Regions from separate parts of the Homo sapiens genome. Here regions 1, 2, 3, 4 and 5 are each linked to region 6. The links are contacts of gene promoters, found by promoter capture Hi-C in blood cells and fetal thymus (Javierre and others, 2016). All regions are on one chromosome and are shown on one strand. The core of a region is centred on a gene start or on the middle of the fragment in contact, and the rest is flanking DNA. Distances in the headings are between cores, read along the strand shown.

The links. Contacts are between HindIII fragments. The CHiCAGO score rates a contact against its expected background, and 5 or more counts as called.
Region 1: a fragment that was not itself captured here is called in contact with the fragment with the promoter of GNL3L in region 6 in 1 of 17 cell types (neutrophils); the score reaches 7.4 in neutrophils.
Region 2: a contact is called between the fragment with the promoter of TSPYL2 here and the fragment with the promoter of GNL3L in region 6, in 1 of 17 cell types (neutrophils). The highest score is 7.4, in neutrophils.
Region 3: a contact is called between a fragment that was not itself captured here and the fragment with the promoter of GNL3L in region 6, in 1 of 17 cell types (neutrophils). The highest score is 7.3, in neutrophils.
Region 4: a fragment that was not itself captured here is called in contact with the fragment with the promoter of GNL3L in region 6 in 4 of 17 cell types (neutrophils, monocytes, non-activated CD4 T cells and 1 more); the score reaches 14.8 in neutrophils.
Region 5: a fragment that was not itself captured here is called in contact with the fragment with the promoter of GNL3L in region 6 in 1 of 17 cell types (neutrophils); the score reaches 9.1 in neutrophils.

Annotation. Positions count from the first base shown.
Region 1 is chrX:53,310,705-53,313,595 of GRCh38, forward strand. All of the region lies in intron 1 of IQSEC2 (IQ motif and Sec7 domain ArfGEF 2), which reads right to left. Among named protein-coding and RNA genes, the nearest start is that of IQSEC2, 9.2 kb to the right of the region's middle. The HindIII fragment of the contact is 4,367 bases long and covers 1-2,891 here.
Region 2 is chrX:53,080,642-53,083,705 of GRCh38, forward strand. TSPYL2 (TSPY like 2) reads left to right here and starts at 1,726. Exons shown (of 7, transcript NM_022117.4): 1 at 1,726-2,664. The coding sequence starts at 1,858. RefSeq lists silencers at 1,591-1,700, 1,971-2,020, 2,051-2,100. The HindIII fragment of the contact is 18,116 bases long and covers 1-3,064 here.
Region 3 is chrX:55,710,712-55,713,803 of GRCh38, forward strand. No RefSeq gene overlaps it. Among named protein-coding and RNA genes, the nearest start is that of RRAGB, 5.5 kb to the right of the region's middle. The HindIII fragment of the contact is 3,713 bases long and covers 1-3,092 here.
Region 4 is chrX:52,998,201-53,001,164 of GRCh38, forward strand. No RefSeq gene overlaps it. Among named protein-coding and RNA genes, the nearest start is that of FAM156A, 41 kb to the left of the region's middle. The HindIII fragment of the contact is 8,235 bases long and covers 1-2,964 here.
Region 5 is chrX:53,216,481-53,219,740 of GRCh38, forward strand. It overlaps KDM5C (lysine demethylase 5C), which reads right to left. Exons shown (of 26, transcript NM_004187.5): 3 at 1,796-1,918; 4 at 1,316-1,486; 5 at 663-797. Among named protein-coding and RNA genes, the nearest start is that of KDM5C, 7.1 kb to the right of the region's middle. The HindIII fragment of the contact is 2,329 bases long and covers 149-2,477 here.
Region 6 is chrX:54,528,937-54,532,184 of GRCh38, forward strand. It overlaps GNL3L (G protein nucleolar 3 like), which reads left to right and starts at 1,283. Exons shown (of 16, transcript NM_001184819.2): 1 at 1,283-1,483. RefSeq lists enhancers at 684-1,204, 859-908, 1,359-1,418, 1,429-1,688. The HindIII fragment of the contact is 4,164 bases long and covers 7-3,248 here.

The DNA of each region.
Region 1 (2,891 bases), core at 166-2,665, 1.2 Mb before region 6:
TGGCTGTCAGGCCAGAAACTGCCTCTGAGCTGCCTCAGTTACAGTAAATGAAGCCACGTAAGACAAAAAACAGCAGAAAGAAGGCTGGGCCTGAGCTAGGGGGAGAAAGAGAACAGCACATTTAAGAAAAGATGCACTGGGCGCAGTGGCTCACACCTGTAATCCCAACATTTTGGGAGGCCGAGGTGGGCGGATCACCTGAGGTCGGGAGTTCGAGACTAGCCTGACCAACATGGAGAAACCCTGTCTCTACTAAAAATACAAAATTAGCTGGGTGTGGTGGTGCATGCCTGTAATCCCAGCTACTCGGGAGGCTGAGGCAGGAGAATCCCTTGAACCCAGGAGGCGGAGGTTGCAGTGAGCCGAGATCGCGCCATTGCACTCCAGCCTGGGTGACAGAACGAGAGACTCCATCTCAAAAAAAAAAAAAAGAAAAGAAAAGAAAAGATGCTCTGAATGCTGGCATTCATACTAGGGTGACTCTTCTAATCAGCGTTCTCTTTTCTGCTCACACCCTGACTGGCCTTATACAAGTCCTTTCTCTCTCTGGGCCTCAGTCTTTTCATCTGTAAAATGAATAGCTTCAGTTGGATGATTTGTCAGAGTCCTTCCAACTTGTGATTTCTTGATTTCTATGCTGGTATTATTAAAACCCTACTGGTCATGAACGCTGCCACTCCTCTGAGCTTCCAGAGCAGGCTGCGCTCCCCTCCATCATCATCTTTCTCCCCACATAGGTTATCTCTACTCCCACTGCCCAAGCACAGGCCTGATCATCTCTCATCTAGACTGCTGTACCAGCCTCCTCCCTGGATACCCTCCAATCTATCTTCCAAACTGCCCTCTAGGGGGATCTCTCCAAAACGTGGCTCTTGACATGTTCTCCCACACCACAATAAGCACCTCTCCCCCAGTTTAAAATGCTACTTGGCCAGGCATGGTGGCTCATGCCTGTAATCCTAGTACTTTGGGAGGCCAGGGCAGGTGGCTCACCTGAGGTCAGGAGTTTGAGACCAGCCTGGCCAATATGGCAAAACCCTGTCTCTACTAAAAATACAAAAATTAGCCAGGCATAGTGGCACACGCCTGTAATCCCAGCTACTCGGGAGGCTGAGGCAGGAGAATTGCTTGAACCTGGGGCGGGGAAGAGGCTGCAGTGAGCTGAGATCACGCCACTTCACTCCAGCCTGGGCGAAAGAGCAAAACTCCGTCTCAAAAAAATAAAAACAAAAACAACACAAAAACAAAACAGCAGAAAGCTCCTGACGCTGCTAGTGAAGTGTCCTCAAGATGTGAGCCGGCCAACCCTCCAGACTCCCCTGCGAGTCTCTCTGTTTGTGCTCTAGTTTGTACTGAACTCATAAAAAAACAAAACAAACAAACAAAAAACCTCCCCATACACATATCCTGCTGGGCCCATACCTCTGTGTGTTTGCTCATGCTGGCCCCTCTGCCTTAACCTCCCTTTTGCCCCCAATTCCCACCAACCCACATGCTGTCCTTCTTCACCTAGCTAACTCAAACTCATCCTCCAAGCCTCAGCTCAGGTATCACCTCCTCCAGTAAGCCTTCCCTGACAGTCCAGGGTGATGTCTCTCCTTTGAGCACCTGTGGCCCCCTGTGCTCCCCTCTGGCATGACACACTGGATAGCACACTGCAATCGTCTATTTCCACCACCACCTTCTCCACCCAATTATGAGCACCTTGAAGCCAGGAACTATATACTAATCATAGAATTCTCTGCCTGTGATGGCACAAGGCATGGCACATCCTGGCATGCAATGTTCACTGGACTGACCTCTCTCTCTGAAATGTGGTGAGCTGCCACATGGTTTCTCCTCCTGTCCTCCCACAGCACAGAGCTTTACAGAGTTATTATTAATAATAATGGCTATCGCTGAGTAAACACATACTGTGTGCTCAGCGCTTCACCTACGTCATCTTATTTAATTTTCACAACCATCACAATGAGATGGGTTGTTTATGAATTGGCTGGCATATCAGATATACAGTTGTGAGAGATGCCTCTCAGATTTATAAGAAAATGTGGGGGAAGAGCCAAGTTAGGTACTTTTCATCACAGATATAATGACAATAATTCTAAAGTGGTTATATGAAGGAAAATATTGGTTTTATTCAGGTGAATGCAGTATGCTGTATCCTGGAATCCAGCAGGAAATCACAGGGCCTGGATATGCAGTCCTATCACTCCTTTAAAAAGGTATAAAAATCACATCGCTCCAACGAAATGCACTAGTGAAACATTAGTGAAATGGTACCTATTAGGTGATGATAGTGATACATTTACATCTAAAATGTTGGAGGAATAATCCTGATCAGCCGTGTAGCTCTGGCTTGTCATCTTTGTTTTGAAAGGGATGCGATGCATCGGTCTTTGCATTGTTGTGTGTTTGCCACATTCCGCCTCTAGGGGGCAGGGCAGTCTCATGTATTATTTTCCATTCTCAGCTTTCCAGCCTGATCAGGACCTTGATGTACGGTATGCCAGGCAGCCAGGAAATTTTCTGATACAATTTTTTTGAGGGAGGTAGGGGGCTGGCAACATGAATCTCATGCATCAGAAAATACAGTTTTATTCCTATTTACTACTTGAGAAAACTGAGGCTCTGAAAGTGAAGTGATTTGCCTAGAGTTACACAAAGTCCTTCCATGGCACCACACTTTCTCTGAATGCTAAGGTCCCAGAGAGCTTCAGCTACTAAGCACTGGGGAATGGGCTTCCCCGTGTAAATGCTTCCAACAGGCAGGCTTGGAGAGAAACCAAATACCATGAGGAAGTTATAGTAACTGGCAAATTATGTTGCCCTAAACGAGCTTCCCCAAAAGAGGAAGTAAGTCACTTACTAAGCATTCTTCCCCATGACCAATG
Region 2 (3,064 bases), core at 476-2,975, 1.4 Mb before region 6:
ATTCTGTCTTTGAGAGATCCAGCCATGTTGCCGTATATAGATCTAATTCATTCTAGTGGTCCATCTAAAACATATATCACATTTTTCTTATCCACTCCCCTGATGATGGATCCCTAGGTCTCCTCTCTGCTCCGCGACAAGGCTGCAATGGGCAGTTACCTACACCTCTCTTGAGGGATGCCTAATTTAGGGGAGAGAAAACTGAAGCTCAGAGAGGGGCAGTGATTTGGTTAAGGTTACAAAATGAGGGGCACACCCATGATGTGAATCCCAGCACCAAAGCCAGCCCTCCACCACCATGCCTCACAAAAGACCATCCATCTCTGGTTTAAAAAGAAAAATCTTAAAATACAGCATACACTGGGGAAAGGGAGAGGAAAGGATGGAAAGGGGGAGAAATGAAGAGACAGAAAGTGCTAGAAAATTCTAGCAGATGAGCTGAATCACAATCATTTTTATGACGCAGAGGAAGTTACTTTTTTGTGTGTGTGATTATTATTTGTAGAGCCATTTTGCGGAGATGGAAAACGCCACGTCAAAACCTGGCCCCCAAACCAAACACCCTGGGTGCCTAAATTGCAGGCGCAGGCGGTAGGGCAGCCCGAGCCCCCGAGGAGCTACAGCAGAGTTCACCCAGGGGGCAAACGTGGGGGGTGGGGGAAGGGGCAGAAGTGGAAGGTAGGAAAAGAGGCAGAAGCGGGGGGGCGGGGGGCAGGGGTTGTGTGAGGGAAGGGGCAGAAGTTGGGGGATAGGGGAAGGGCAGAAGCGGAGGGCGGGAGGGTGAGGGAAGGGGCAGAAGTGGGGTTGGGGGGTGAAGGAAGGGGCAGAAGTTGGGGGATAGGGGAAGGGGCAGAAGTGGGGGTGAGGGAAGAGACAGTTGGGGGATGGGGGTCAGAAGCAGGGAATGCGGGAAGGGGCAGAAGGGGGGGTGAGGGAAGGGGCAGAAGCGGGGGAGGAAGGGGCAGAAGCGGGGGGTGAAGGGGCAGAAGCGGGGGTGGGGTGGGGGAAGGGGCCGAAGCGGGGGATGGGGGAAGGGGCAGAAACGGGGGGTGGGGGAAGGGACAGAAACGGGGAGTGGAGGAAGGGGCAGAAGCGGGGATGGAAAAAGGGGCAGCAGTGGGGGATGGGAGAAGGGGCAGAAGCGGGGGTGGGAGAAGGGGCAGGAGCTGGGATGGGGGAAGGGGCAGGACCCGGGATGGGGGAAGGGGCAGAAGCGGGGGTGGGGGAAGGAGCTGAAGGAAATGGGGGAAGGGGCAGATTTTAAAAGTGCGTAGTTGCTGAGGGGAGGGGGGCGGGGGGAACGATAACGAGGCTCTTCCAATTTCATGTGAGCACATCCTGCTCAGCGCCTGCGTTTGTTTTTCGTCTCGTTTTTTGGTCTTCAGAACCACTGGTACTTTTCCCATTGGATAAAACGCTGAGAGGGTGAGGGAGAGGGGCTTCTTCCCCAGCTTTCCTCGCAGCCAATCGCCCTGCAGTTTCCCTCCCGTCGCTGAGGGAGTCAGCCCGTTGATTGGCGGGCCCGAGGGGAGCCAATCGGAAACTGATGATGTGTGGTGTTGGCAAGCGGATTGCGTGAGAGCGGGCAGGGGTCGCGGGAGCGCGATCGCCGCCGCGGCGGCCGGCAGCCAATGGCCAGGCCGAGCGGACCCCTGCGTCAGGAGTGGGCGGGGCTTCGGCGATTGGCGCGGAGGGAGTAGAGCGGGCGCTGTGGGAGGGAACGCCAGAGCGAGGTGGTGAGGAGAGCTGGTTGCGTGAGTCTCCTCAGCTCTGCTTACCGGTGCGACTAGCGGCAGCGACGCGGCTAAAAGCGAAGGGGCGAGTGCGAGTCCCCTGAGCTGTACGAACGCGGTCGCCATGGACCGCCCAGATGAGGGGCCTCCGGCCAAGACCCGCCGCCTGAGCAGCTCCGAGTCTCCACAGCGCGACCCGCCCCCGCCGCCGCCGCCGCCGCCGCTCCTCCGACTGCCGCTGCCTCCACCCCAGCAGCGCCCGAGGCTCCAGGAGGAAACGGAGGCGGCACAGGTGCTGGCCGATATGAGGGGGGTGGGACTGGGCCCCGCGCTGCCCCCGCCGCCTCCCTATGTCATTCTCGAGGAGGGGGGGATCCGCGCATACTTCACGCTCGGTGCTGAGTGTCCCGGCTGGGATTCTACCATCGAGTCGGGGTATGGGGAGGCGCCCCCGCCCACGGAGAGCCTGGAAGCACTCCCCACTCCTGAGGCCTCGGGGGGGAGCCTGGAAATCGATTTTCAGGTTGTACAGTCGAGCAGTTTTGGTGGAGAGGGGGCCCTAGAAACCTGTAGCGCAGTGGGGTGGGCGCCCCAGAGGTTAGTTGACCCGAAGAGCAAGGAAGAGGCGATCATCATAGTGGAGGATGAGGATGAGGATGAGCGGGAGAGTATGAGGAGCAGCAGGAGGCGGCGGCGGCGGCGGAGGAGGAAGCAGAGGAAGGTGAAGAGGGAAAGCAGAGAGAGAAATGCCGAGAGGATGGAGAGCATCCTGCAGGCACTGGAGGATATTCAGCTGGATCTGGAGGCAGTGAACATCAAGGCAGGCAAAGCCTTCCTGCGTCTCAAGCGCAAGTTCATCCAGATGCGAAGACCCTTCCTGGAGCGCAGAGACCTCATCATCCAGCATATCCCAGGCTTCTGGGTCAAAGCAGTATCCTTCTAATCGATACTCCGTAGGTCAGAAGCCCGTGACAGGAAAGGGGAAGGTGGGGGAGGGACAGAAAAGGTAAAGCGGGTGGAGGAGAGCCAGAGGTGGGCATGATCCCCCTATCGGAAGACGGACTAGACTGGGTGGAAGAGGGATGGAAGGAGGAGGGCAAAACAGCAGAGAAGCTGGACTGGAGATGATGAAGGGTGGTGGAGGGGGGGCGGACATAAAAACTGGACCACAGATGGGAAAGGGGGAAGAGGAGGAACATAGCATTAAAAAAAGGATCACAGATGATAAAAAGGGGGAGGGTAGTAAAGGGGCACACAGCAAAAAAATTGGACCAGAGATGGTGAAAGGAGGAGGGGAGGGGCACGTAGAAGATGAACTGACTCAGAGACCT
Region 3 (3,092 bases), core at 457-2,956, 1.2 Mb after region 6:
TATGACAGAACAATACAGAAAGACATACAAAGAATGCCAGATTTGCTACAGCTTAAGACTAGCCTCACAAATCCTCATAAATCCTTTTTATCCATTAATCAAACATTACACAGGAAATAAACAGTTATTTTTACCATTCTTTCAACTGGTTTGCACGGGGGAGCGGGGGGAGAGAGAGAGAGACCAGAAGTCTGACTCATAAGAAATTCTTGCTCTTTTGCCAGCATGCCAGGCTTCTGGGTTTCCTTTCCCTGATTCAACCTAGTGACCCGGCTTCCTGCACCATAGCCCTGGGGGCCAAGCTGCAACACTAAGGAAAATTATCATTTTCTGTTCTGGCCAGAGCAAAATACATATGACAAAACATAGACATTAGCCACTGTGCAATATCAAACTGGCAAGGCCCAAACTTGCCCCTGGTTGGGCCCCATTATCATTAATCCAACCTCTGACCAGGAGTTTCAACTTGTGGTCTCTGGGCAAGATGGTCACCCTGAGTAATAGAAAAGATAGGAAAGAGAAGGGAGAGAAAGAAAAGCATTGCCTGTGGCAGGGTGGGGAAGGTGAAGAACTCAGGGAGGTAAAGCAAAAGACCCACCCCCTGCAGCCACACTGAATCAAAAGTTCAGATGGGCGCTTTTCAGTTGTGAAGGCATATTTTCCAGCAGTCCCATCAGCTCTCAACTTTCTCGTTTTTGGGGAGAAAAAAGCCCCCCATATCCCACTATCCTGTACATGCCTAATCCTGTCACCCACAGCAAAGGGTGCAAGGCAGATTATTCCAAAGATAATAGCAGTTAACATCCTGTAGTGCCAAACTCATTCTTAGCCAAAAGGGAATTTACTGAGAGGAGCCTCTAACCCCCTAAGTCTTAGAAGGGAACCTAATTTTCCTAAGTTGGGCCTCTAACCCAAGGTTGGTCAAGTGTCCTTGCCTTTTATTAAGAGGGGCCTCTAACCCACTCTGTCTTATGAGAGACTTTAACTCCTCTAAATTGGGCCTCTAACCCAATCGCGTCCTTTACCTGGGTACCCCACCACTTACCCAAAATGGGACAATCAGTGCTGCAGTTTATTTCCTTTTGGTCGGGTTGTTTCTTCAGTATTGTCCCTTCGAGGTTTGTCAAAAAGATGTTACTAGACCCCACCACTTACCCAAAGTTAGTCTTTGGGTTAGGTGTTTCTGCAGTATAGTCCCTTTGGTGGTTGTAAGAAAAAATTCAGGACAAGTCCATAAAGTGAAAGCAAGATATTAGGAAAGTAAAGTAATAAAAGAACGGCTACTCCATAGACAGAGCAGTCCCAAGGGGCACTGGTTGCCCATTTTTATGGTTATTTCTTGATGATATGCTAAACAAGGGGTGGATTATTCATGCATCCCCTGTTTAGACCTTATAGAGTAACTTCCTGACATTGCCATGCCATTTGTAAACTGTCATGGTGCTGGTTGGTGTAGCAGTGAGGGCAACCAGAGGTCACTCTCGTCACCATCTTTGTTTTGGTGAGTTTTAACCGGCTTCTTTAATGCCACCTGTTTTATCAGCAAGGTCTTTATGACCTGTATCTTGTGCTGACCTTGTATCTCATCCTGTAACTTAGAATGCCTTAATTGTCTGGGAATGCAGCCCAGCAGGTCTCAGCCTTATTCTACCCAGCCCCTACTAAAGATGGAGTTGCTCTGGTTCAAATACCTCTGACAGTTCAGGTTTTTCTACCTAGGTAATGGCTCCCATGGAGGCTTCTGCTCATGGAATTTTGGTCTGGAAACTTGTCATTATCTGTATTTGCCTCTCTCCCCAATTCTGGCAGCAGCTGTGTGTCCTGTGGCCTCACTTCTCTAAAGGAATTAAGACTAATTGTTGATTTTTCAGTTTGTTCAGTTTTTTACTTATTGTTAACATGGAGTGGTGACTTTTAAGCTCCTTATATGTAGGATTGGAAACTGAAAGTCCCCACATTAAGTTTTCATCAATCAAGTCGTTAAATCTTGTTAAATAGAACATTTTGTGATATTTTAAGCCATGATGTGGGAATGGGGAGAAAAGAGCTGCTAGCAGTATGTAGGAGTAAACTTAAGGAGCTCTGGGAAGTAGCAGTGAGCTATGGAAAAAGAGGAAGAAGGGAAAGGTGGAGGAGGAGAAGGGCAGGCAACTTATGAGTGACAGTTTGAGTATTGGAGACTCAGGAGTATGTTTGCAGATACAGGTAACTAGATTGAATTTAGGGCATAAAATGAAACTTATTAAAGGATTTGTTGGGGGCCTGTATTACTTTTTCTTGCTGAGATGGATGGTTAAAAAAATATATGTGTTGGGATCTAGACAAAGGGAATGCTGATGTTTGTGTGAGTATAGTGGAGCTGAGGTGTTAAGACAGAAGCATCTGACAGGCAGTGGAACCTGAAATAGAGTGATGTTTGTATCCCTGCTGTCCAACACAGTTCCTGGCACCGAAAGGCTGCTCAATAAACATTTGTTGAATGAATGTGTGAGTAATAGAGCTTAGTTCACACTTTCTGAAAAGAACCTATAATTAAATGTTTAAAAATTAATTCAACAAAAATAAAAAGTGACCTCCGCTTCCTATGTATGTAAGGGTTTTTTTTTTTTTAAGAATAAAAATGTGAAAAATAAGCAGCCAAAGGTACCTGGGTAGAAACCAGAATCTGAACTGCTGGACTATATAGTGTCAACAAAGAGTCAAACTCTGGAAAACATTTGATGAGATTTATTCTGAGCCAAATAGGAGTGACCATGGCCTGTGATACAGTCCTCAGGAGATCCTGAAAACAAGTGCCCAAGGTGGCTGCGGTGCAGCTTGGTTTTATACATTTTAGGGAGACAAGGGACTTCAGTCAAATACATGTAAGAAATATATGGGTTTGGCCCAGAAAGGTGGGACAACTCGGAGTGGGGGTGGGAGGGGGGCTTCCAGCTTATAGGTAGATTGAAAAAATTTCTGGTTGACAATTGGTTGAGTTTAAAGACCTAGGATCAATAGAAAGGAATGTTTGGGTTAAGATAAGAGGTTGTGGAGACTAAAGTTTAATCATGCAGGAAGCCTGCAGGTTCAGAAAGAATAGAATGTAAATG
Region 4 (2,964 bases), core at 220-2,719, 1.5 Mb before region 6:
AAAGTGCTGGGATTACAGGCGTGAGCCACCATGCCTGGCCTGAAAAAAATTCTTTCAAGGGGGAAGAAGAGGTAGGAATCTCTACATTTGCTGGTGGACCTCATGCCAATGGATGAATCTGTGGTATTTCCCCACTCTTTACCTCATGCCACCACTTCCACAGGTAACGTGAGGATTGCATTCTCAACATCCATTACCAAGCAGGGTGTGCGACAGAGAGACAGAGAGGCAGACCTCCCACCAGTGAGTCAGTGATGGGGCCCTTGAGGCCCTGGGCAAACCTCTTCCTTTCCCCTTTCCTTGTCATCTCCCATTGACCCCGGCTGTGCCTGAGCCTTTCCCTGTCTCCTCCAGTGAGTCCAAGTTACAGCCAGTTCCTCCCTCTTCATGAGGACTGTGTGAGCACAGGCCCTACCCTCACTTGGCTTCAGCCTCCTCATCTGCAAATGGTGAGCTCCTCATTGGCAATTTGGCAGATTGAGTTAACATGGGTTACATGGGTTTGTCACAGGGGTCGGCCCTGAGCAAGGATGGGGTTAATGTCTGCAGACATTGTCATTAGTATTTGTACCACTGGCTCCTACATGCTACACTGAGGACTTGCCCTCCCTAAGGATAAGGATCCTATGTTTTCATCTCTCTGATACCAGGGCACCTTGTTCTACCCCTGTGAGAGAAAGGACCATCCTGCCTTCCTCACAAAAATATCCTGATATATGAGCAGCTCGGAGACCTAACCTTCTGGACAAAGACCTCCCACAAAAATGTTCAAAGATCTCATGCCTTAGGACAGTGCCCACAAGCAGTTCAGAGACCTCTCACCCTAGACACCAACCACCAAACAGCTCAAAGATGCCACACCTCAGGACACAGACCCCCAACCAGCTCAGAGAATTCCTACCTCAAGGTAACAGCTCACAATAACTCAAGGACCTCACACACCAACCCACAAAGAGCTTACCAGCTACACCCTGGTACACATACCCACAAAGAATCAGCTCAGGGCTGCTGTGTGATGCTGAATCTCTGTGCCATCCAACACTGTTATGGGGAGGCCTTGGATCTTGTAGTTCCCCACAGTCTGCAGTCACCACCGTTGTTGTCATGAGGAAGGCAGGTTCACACCAGGGATGGGGAAGGACCCTCTGGGACTGAGGGGATCAGAGAGTAAGCTCTCATATCTGGCTCCCAGGAATGGCCATCGTCTGACCAACCCTGATCACCTTTGGTCCTGGTGACTTTTGTATCTTGCCCCATGGGGGCTTCAGGGTAAATCCCAGAACACAGTAGGAGACCCCTAGACCCCGTTATCTTTGCCATCTCTCAGCACCCACTGTGGGGAACTGGATCTTGGAGAGAGAGTAGAGGTCCTCCCTTCACACTGCCAATGGCAACCCCCATTATGGCCCTTCTGAGCATTCTGGTCCTTTCTCCCAAACTTCCTCTCCAATTGGCAGCTGCCACACCTCCTCTCTCTCCCCAGCTCCCCACCCTTGTGAGCCACCAGGGCTCCCCTTCCACCACGGACCTCTACCTCCCTACCCCAGCCCTAGTCATGGGGCCTCAGTTATACCCTCTCACGCCCACTTCGGTCCTCTCACCCGGCACCTAGGCCTACCTCAGAGGACCCCCTCAGGACCCTCCCTGCACTTCCTGAAAGTGCAGACCATTTTGCAGGACAGATATCTCTCCTGCCCCCACACAGGTTTCTGTCACAACATCCCTGTTAGGGCAGAACTGGAAATGTCTCCCAGATCCAGATGAAACTCCAGACCCAGACTGAGAGTCCAGGGCAATTCGCCTAGGGCTGGAGGGGGCGGGGTGGGATTCCTGAAGGAGGCGCTGGGGTGAGTGTCACCTCAGGAGATGGGAGGACACTGCCCAGCTGGGTCTGTGAGGACAGAGAAGGGACCCTGGGAGGGACAGGGGCAGCATGAGCGCTGGGAGTGTCCCAACTGCGGTCCTCCGGGAATTGTCATCTGGCCCCAGCTCTGCCCCACCCTGGTTGGAGGGCCCCAGCCAGGGATCTGCCTTCTTGGCGCTCCAGTGTCCTCATCAGCGACAGAGGTGACAGGGCTTTCTTCCAAAGGTGCTAGTGGGGATTAAATGAGATGGCACATAAGAAAGAAGTGCTTGGGACACTGCAAGTCAGATCTGTGATGACCTAAAACTTAGAGCCCTGCGCACTGAGCGCCAGATGACCCCTTGCGAGTGGTCTCACTTAAGCCCTGCCTGTGACTTGGGAAGCATCTTTAGCCTCATACTGAACAACAGTCCAAGTCTTGAAGACTGGATCCCACTGGTCATCCAGTCCTTAAAGCCCAGGCTCCGCTTTACGAACTTCCGCCCATCAGCCACTGTGCCTGACCGTGCGCGAGCGCGAAGACCCAGGGACCCGGCTCTACGAGTGCATCCCGCTGTACTCTGTAAGAGCCGCACTCTCTAGGTGAGCTTCCCAGAGCGGTCCTTGATGCCTTCCTGCCTTGATCGTCCCACAACCGATCGACTGCCCCTTTGCAGGTTCCTAATTTATTCAGATCTGTAGAACGGAGACGGGCGTGGCCAAAAATGGGACTAGAGGGGTCTCCGAGAAGTCGGAGAATGGGTGTCAGCTTGGGCCTGGGTGGAAACCAGGAGGACGGATTGCCGCCTGGGGCGCTCGCCGCCGCGCCCGCCCTACTGTCGAAAGGTGGGGCTGATTTCGTTGGTGGGCGGGGGTGGGCTTTATTGTCCCTCCACACACAGCATTTGTATTCTTACAAAATAGAAGCTCCCTTCCCCTATGGTATCTCGCATAATGGTGTGTTCATTTCCGGTACCCGCAATGGTATGTTACATCCTCCACGCCTCATCCCCAGCTGCACACTCACAGGAGGTGAGATCCAAGAGGGGCCAGCTATTTCATACTTAGGTCCTGTGGATTACTCTAATGGTTCTCAAACTTTAGTGTGCATCAAGAATCAC
Region 5 (3,260 bases), core at 63-2,562, 1.3 Mb before region 6:
AATACATATGAAAAAGCTAACAGTGTTTGGCATTACCAACAAATGGCAGTCTAATAGGATCTGCTAAATTACATGCTTCGATGAGCCCAGGGACAGTGTCCATCTTGTTCTCTATTGTATTCCCAGTGCCAAGAATGCCTGGCACATAAGCTTCTGCCTGAAGACATAGCTACAAGGAGCTGGGAACAGTGGTACACACCTGTAGTCCTAGCTACTCCAGAGGCTGAGGTGAGAGGATCACTCAAGCCTAGGAGTTCAAGATTATAGTGCATTATGATCAAGCCTGTGAATAGCCACTGTACTCCAGTCTGGGCGACATAGCAAGACCCTATGCCTCAAAACAAAACAAAACAAAAGATACAGGTATAAAGAGAAAGAAGAGTTCTACTTCTATGAGCAGAGTAAGTCCGGAAAGGAACAAAACAGGCAAGAAGAGCAGACATACAAAAGAGGTTGCACAAACAGATCAAGACCCAGCTCAGCAGCTCAGCTGAGAGGGGAGAAAAAAGCAAGAGTGAAGCCAGAGAGAGGCACACTAATGCTCAGAAGAACTCAGAGAACAAAAGAAGGGATAATGGAACAGGGAACACAGCCTTAGCCAGAAGGAAGGAGAGGACTCCCTCCACCTCAAAGCTCTAAGTTCGAAGAAGGGGAGTACTCACATCAGGCTGCAGTCTCTTGGCCCGCCGGCCATAGCTGTTGAACTTGGAAGGCTGCACAGACTGTCGTAGGGGGATGCTGTGGGGTTTGTATTCCTTGTCCTTCTCCTCATTATCAAATGGACGTGTGTTACACTGCTGGGGACAGGTAAGGGGTAAGGGTCAGGACATGGACTCCAGCCCGCAAAAGCAATAACTTCCCTCTACCCTCACCCAATGGCATCCAAAGCTGTGGTCCACTCACCTGACCCACACCAACAGCCCCTGTTCCACTGGTCTTTAGCACTGACACCAGCACACATTTTGGGAATTCTCAGTACCTTTGCTTGTATCACTCCTCCCTTCCAGTCACTTCCTCCACCAACCATCTCCCCAACTAAATCAGACGCCATCTCTTCCCACACCTTCTAGCCCAAGCTCTCCCTTCTCTGATTTCTCTATCAGTTAAAACTTTGTCACATAACAAATAAGCTAGCCGTACAGATAACTCCAGGACCTCTGACCCTGAGCAGTGTAGAAAGAGAATAAGCATCACTAGGAAAGAGCAGAGTCCAACTCCCAGGTCTCCAGTCCACTAAACCAGTTTCATTAAGAGCAAGTGTGGAAATCTGTGCTGAAGGGTAAAGCCGCACCCTGCCCCACTGTGACATCCTTACCACAAGGTTGGCTCCAGACTGGTACATTTCATAGGGATAAACAATGCGTTCGTAGTGGGAGCGTAGCAAGGAGCCAATATTTTTGCCTGGTGGATAGTTGAGGCGCTGGGCTACCCGAGCCCACCGACGGTCCTTGCAGATAGCTTCATAACCACCTTCCTCCACCACAATCTGAAAAAACAAGTAGGAAAAGACATGGATGTGCCACGTGTATTTATATGTGAGGGAGTAGGCCTGTAGAAAGGGCAAAAGGGCAATGAGGGCAACTCTAGTCCCTCACTTCACTGGGGGCTATCCCCTTATCCCAACCTCAAATTGCAGCAAAAGATTCCAAGATGTTCTGATGACAGCTTGTGTGCTACCAAGCTGTGCCCCTTCCATTGCAGCCTAAAGATCTAATATCCAAACTAAGGGGGCCCCCAGAGTATCAAGGATATTGGGGTTTGGTGGGAGGGGTGCTTGACAAAAACCTGTTCTTACTTTGCTGAGACTGTAGAGGTCCAAGATCCGCCGTTCTACATTGGGAATCTTTAAGGAGGAGCCCTGGATTTCCCAGAATTTGGCAATCTGGTCCAAGTAGTTCAGTTTCACTCTCGTCTGGGCCTGAAGAAGAAATGGCTCAAAGAGGCTGGCCACCCCCTCCCACTGACCACTATCTTTGGGTCCAGTCTTAGGGGAGAACAGAGGAATACAGCACTCCACACTTTCACTACCCAGGGTTTCTCCCAATGAACCGGATCCCAGACTCTAGGCAGTGCTTAGCCCCACCTCACTCTCATTTCTTTCGTTTTTGTTTTTTTGAGACGGTCTTGCTCTGTCGCCCAAGCTGGAATGGAGTGGTGCAATCACGGCTGACTGTAGACTTGACCTCCTGGGCTCAAGTGATCCTCCTGCCTCAGCCTCCTGAGTAGCTGGAACTATAGGCGCACGCCACCACGCCCGGCTAATTTTGTATTTTTTGTAGCAATGAAGTTTCACCATGTTACCAGGCTGGTCTCAAACTCCTAAGCTCAAGCAATCCATCCACTTCGGCCTCCCAAAGAGCTGGGATCACAGGCACAAGCCACTGCACCACTGCACCCAGCCACCTCTCTCTCATTTGTCACCTTCCAGTCAATCAGAGAAGCCCAAGGTCCCAATAGAGAGGGTCACAACTGCCAAAAGCTTTAGATATGTCCTCTAATCTCCCTGACAAGGTCATGTGAGTATTATCATCTCCTATACAGATGAGGAAACAGAGGCTCAGAGGAGTTAGGACACACAGCAAGCATCAAGATATTTTGGTGCCAAATAATTTGAGCTTTGGCTCTCCCTCTGCTACTGATTTGCTATGCTGCCTTGAGCAAATCAGTTCCACTGTGGACTCCTTTTTCCTTTTACTAATAATTATAAAAGGAAAATAACTGCACAGTCCACTTACCCCAGAGGGGTAGACTTAATGAGGGGACCAGTGAAGATCCTCTGCAGATTTCAGAATTATATCTAAGCTCTAGGCATGTTTCAGAGAAAGCAAGCTCCAAAAAGGCACATGCACCTCCTTATGTACCACCAAACTTGTTCCATGGTGGCTAAAGGGTGAAAGTGCATGCTATAACTATAGACAGAATGGCCTAGAACTAAGAGATGGTATATCAGAGTAGCACTAGCACCTGGCCAACCCAGGACCCAATGTGGGCCAAGGAGACTAGAAACAAGATATGTATGATGCTTCCCTGAAATCTCAGTAACCAAGAAGGACTCCCATAGGCCCCAAGTCTACAACCTCCTCACTCCAGTCAGAGAGCCTGGTTCTTGGAAGAACTAGATAGTCATTACCATTCACTACCTTGCCCTGATCCCATTAGGGGGAACAAAGACAGCTCTTTCCATTTCATAGTTGAGAAAAACTAAGGTCTATTTGTAGAAAGAAACAACCTACAGTTCCTTGGCTGTGAGAACTCTCAAA
Region 6 (3,248 bases), core at 33-2,532:
GTTGAAAGCTTGAAGATACATGGCCCCTGCTCTCAGGGAGTTCACCCTCCTGTGGAGACACAGTCACATAAACAACTACAGTATTGTGATAAGTGCTAGCTTAGCTGTATAGGTAAGGTGCTCTGGGTTTCTAACTCATCTGCGAAAGTCAGAGAAGGTTTCATCGAAGTGACAAGAGTTAGGTCTTAGAGAAACAGAGCAAAATTGCAAATGCAGGGGGAAAGGTGAAAGTGGTCAGGGCTGGTTTCAGGTCCAGAGGAATTTCATGTGTCTCTAGGATGAGAGGTTAGAAGCCCTCCAACGATGTAGAGAGGTAGTGAGTCCTGTTTATGTAAGGGATAAAGGGACAGATGGAGTCATTTTCAGCCCGTCTGTGCTTGAAGTGGAGAAACAAACCCACCCTCGGAGGCACAGAGTTCCACCTACTCTGTGCCCCACCCCAGGGTTTAGGCTTGAGGAAGAGGAGGGGCTGGAATTAAACCATCAAGAAGAAAACATTTGCAGACTAATATTTACTATTTTGTGGGGGAGACCTCACTTCCCAGCCAGCTCCTTGAGATGGCTTCAGAAACCCCTACTTGCCCCACTCCAGAGATATAAATTCATTCCCTTCTGCAGACGCTGCTCCGGGATTGAGGGAAGGATGGAGTAGGAGGGGAAGAAGGCAAAAGGGTGGGAGAGGCTTCTAGTGTGGGAGAGGCTTCTAGTCGTTCTGGCTCCTGCTCCAGCTCGGGTTGGGTATGGCCATAGATCTGAACGTATGCAGAAAAAGCTAGGAGTGCTCAGGGATGGTCTGGGGCTCAAGGACCCGGGAAGGTGGTTGGGAATAGCTAACCAATTCACTTCAGGTGGGGAAATACTCGGCCAGACACGTGACCCAGGCGGCCATTTTCTCACACCCTGCTGTCGCCATCTTCCAGGCAGACAAAGACACCATCCCCCACCCTTGTCTGATTCGGGCGTGGTGACTGCCTGGTTATTGAGATTTGGGAGCACGCATATTTAACCCCAGACAGATGCCCGCAGACAAAATTTTGGCTTGCAAGTAAGGTATATGGCCGCACCAGTCGACCCGCCGCTTCTTCCCGGTCATTTCCCCGTCCTCCTTCTCCCTCCTCCGCTATTTCCTTAACTACGGGGCAGGCAGGAGGCGGGGCCAGCGTGGTCGCGAAGAAGGGACGGGCGGGCGTGAGCTGTCAGTCAGAAGCTCCGCCCCCCCCCCCCCCCCCCCGCGGAGACCGCACGGTGGGCGGAGTCGGGCGCCGCCGGCCTGGGATCCGGAAGTCGGAGCCTAGCTGCGCGAGAGTTTCTGCTCGCTCAACCGAGTTGTCGTGTTGCCCTCGCTTCTCAGATCCCCGCCGGAAGTGTAAGTAAGAAACTTCTCTCCTCTTTTCTCACAATGTGCGCTCACCTAGACGGCCGGGCAGTTAGGATCGTCTATTGGATGTGAAACCAGAGATGCCCGCCAACCTGGAATAGAGAGGTAAACAGCAGGATCCCTTCCAGGGTAGAAGGGACCGGAAGAGGGGCAGGGATCGCGGCACACGTGGAGACGCGCCGAATTGCCTTTTCGCGGAGTGGAGTTTGCCGGGAGAGGGGCATTGCCCCATCCCACCTAGAAAGGTGTAGACCCGGGACACACTGTGTAGAGAGGCACAAACTTCACTTGTGTGGTGAAGCGTTGATCGTCCTCAAGATAGTGAGGCTTCATTCTGCATTCACCTTGTATAGACAGGAGTCGACCCACCAAAGGCATGGGGGACATCCACCCCAACCGTGTAGAGACATCTCCCTCCACCCAGCTGAGCAGCGCAGACTTCTCCCGACTTAAGGCACTTCCTTGGCTTGGCTCTAGACAGCCGTCTCGAGGCACCTCCTCAGGACAGACAGAGGCTTTGATGTATCTGCCCCCATACCAGCATAGAGGAGCTTAGAAACATTTAATATACAGAGGGAGGGCACCTCCTCCCCATACGCGTAGACTCAGAGCCCTCAGTATCGCTCCCCAACTCACCCGTCCCCAAAGTGGTTGCAGTTACAGGCCTCAGCTTATGGACAACTAAGCCAATTGCCCCCTCCTCTTAGGTTAGAGTGAGTCCCCATTGTGGAGAATCAGACCTGATCCCTACTTCCGTAGCCCCCGTTTTACCGAATGTGTAATTTTTCGAAGCACCCAACATGCTTCGAAGCAAACAGGAACAGACCTTAATCCATGAAGAGACAGTCAGGTCTGCCCCTTGAGGGGCCGTGGGGGTAGAGGGGCTCAGATGTGTTCCTCTCCCTTTGAGGTAGACACAGATCATCCCCCTACCTCCCCCTACCTCCCCCAAAGATTTAGAATCACTAAATGTAGCAAGGGAGATACCCCACAGGAGCAGATATGCAGGTCTCCCTCCCTGTAATGTTGAGAGGGAGTGACATCGCTGATTACCTGGCAGTTCAGTGCGTATGGTCTCTCCCCTTTACCCAAGGTAGTGGAGCTCAGATCTGTTTCTCTCCACCCAGGGTAGAATCACAGACGCCCCCACCCCCAAGTATTAGGGCTGATCTATTAATTTATAGCTGCATTGCCAGCCCCCTCCACACACCACCCATGCAGAGAACCAGAGCCCCTATTTCTTTCAGTGTTAGTGTGCCGCTGACTTCAACCAGCATAAAAGATGAAAGTTGTCACAGTCCACCTTCCATAGAAGGGTCCAGAATAGCTCACTGCAGGTAAGGTGCAGACCCGCTTATTCAAAGCTGCATAGTTGTGGAATCAGGCATATCGATCCTGTACCACAGCCCTCTCCAGGGTGAAGAGACGCAGGACCCATCCCCACAATCTAGAGATAAACAGATCTGTGATTCTTTCCCCATGCAGCAGAGATGCACACAGCCACTTTGTGGGTTTCCCCAGTTTCTCTGCACCCCAGAGTAGAGGGACAGATGGCAATCCCCCCAACCCAAATCACCAAGGTATAGACCCCAGGCATATGCAGGCACAGATTTTTACCCCCTCCTCCAAGATTTTGTACTTATCTCAATCCATATAGACACTCAGGTAAGAATCCCTGTTCTCAGGCCCCTTTTCCCCAGGGTAGACTCCTGAGATCTATTTACGCCCTTCCCCACCACCTCTCCCAGGGTAGATGAGATATAGAATCCCCTACTTGGGAAAAGAGGCACTATTATCACCCCATATAGAAATAGACCATCCTTGCATGTCCCTTTCCCCTCAGTGTGGAGGTGTTGAGCACTAGTCCCCT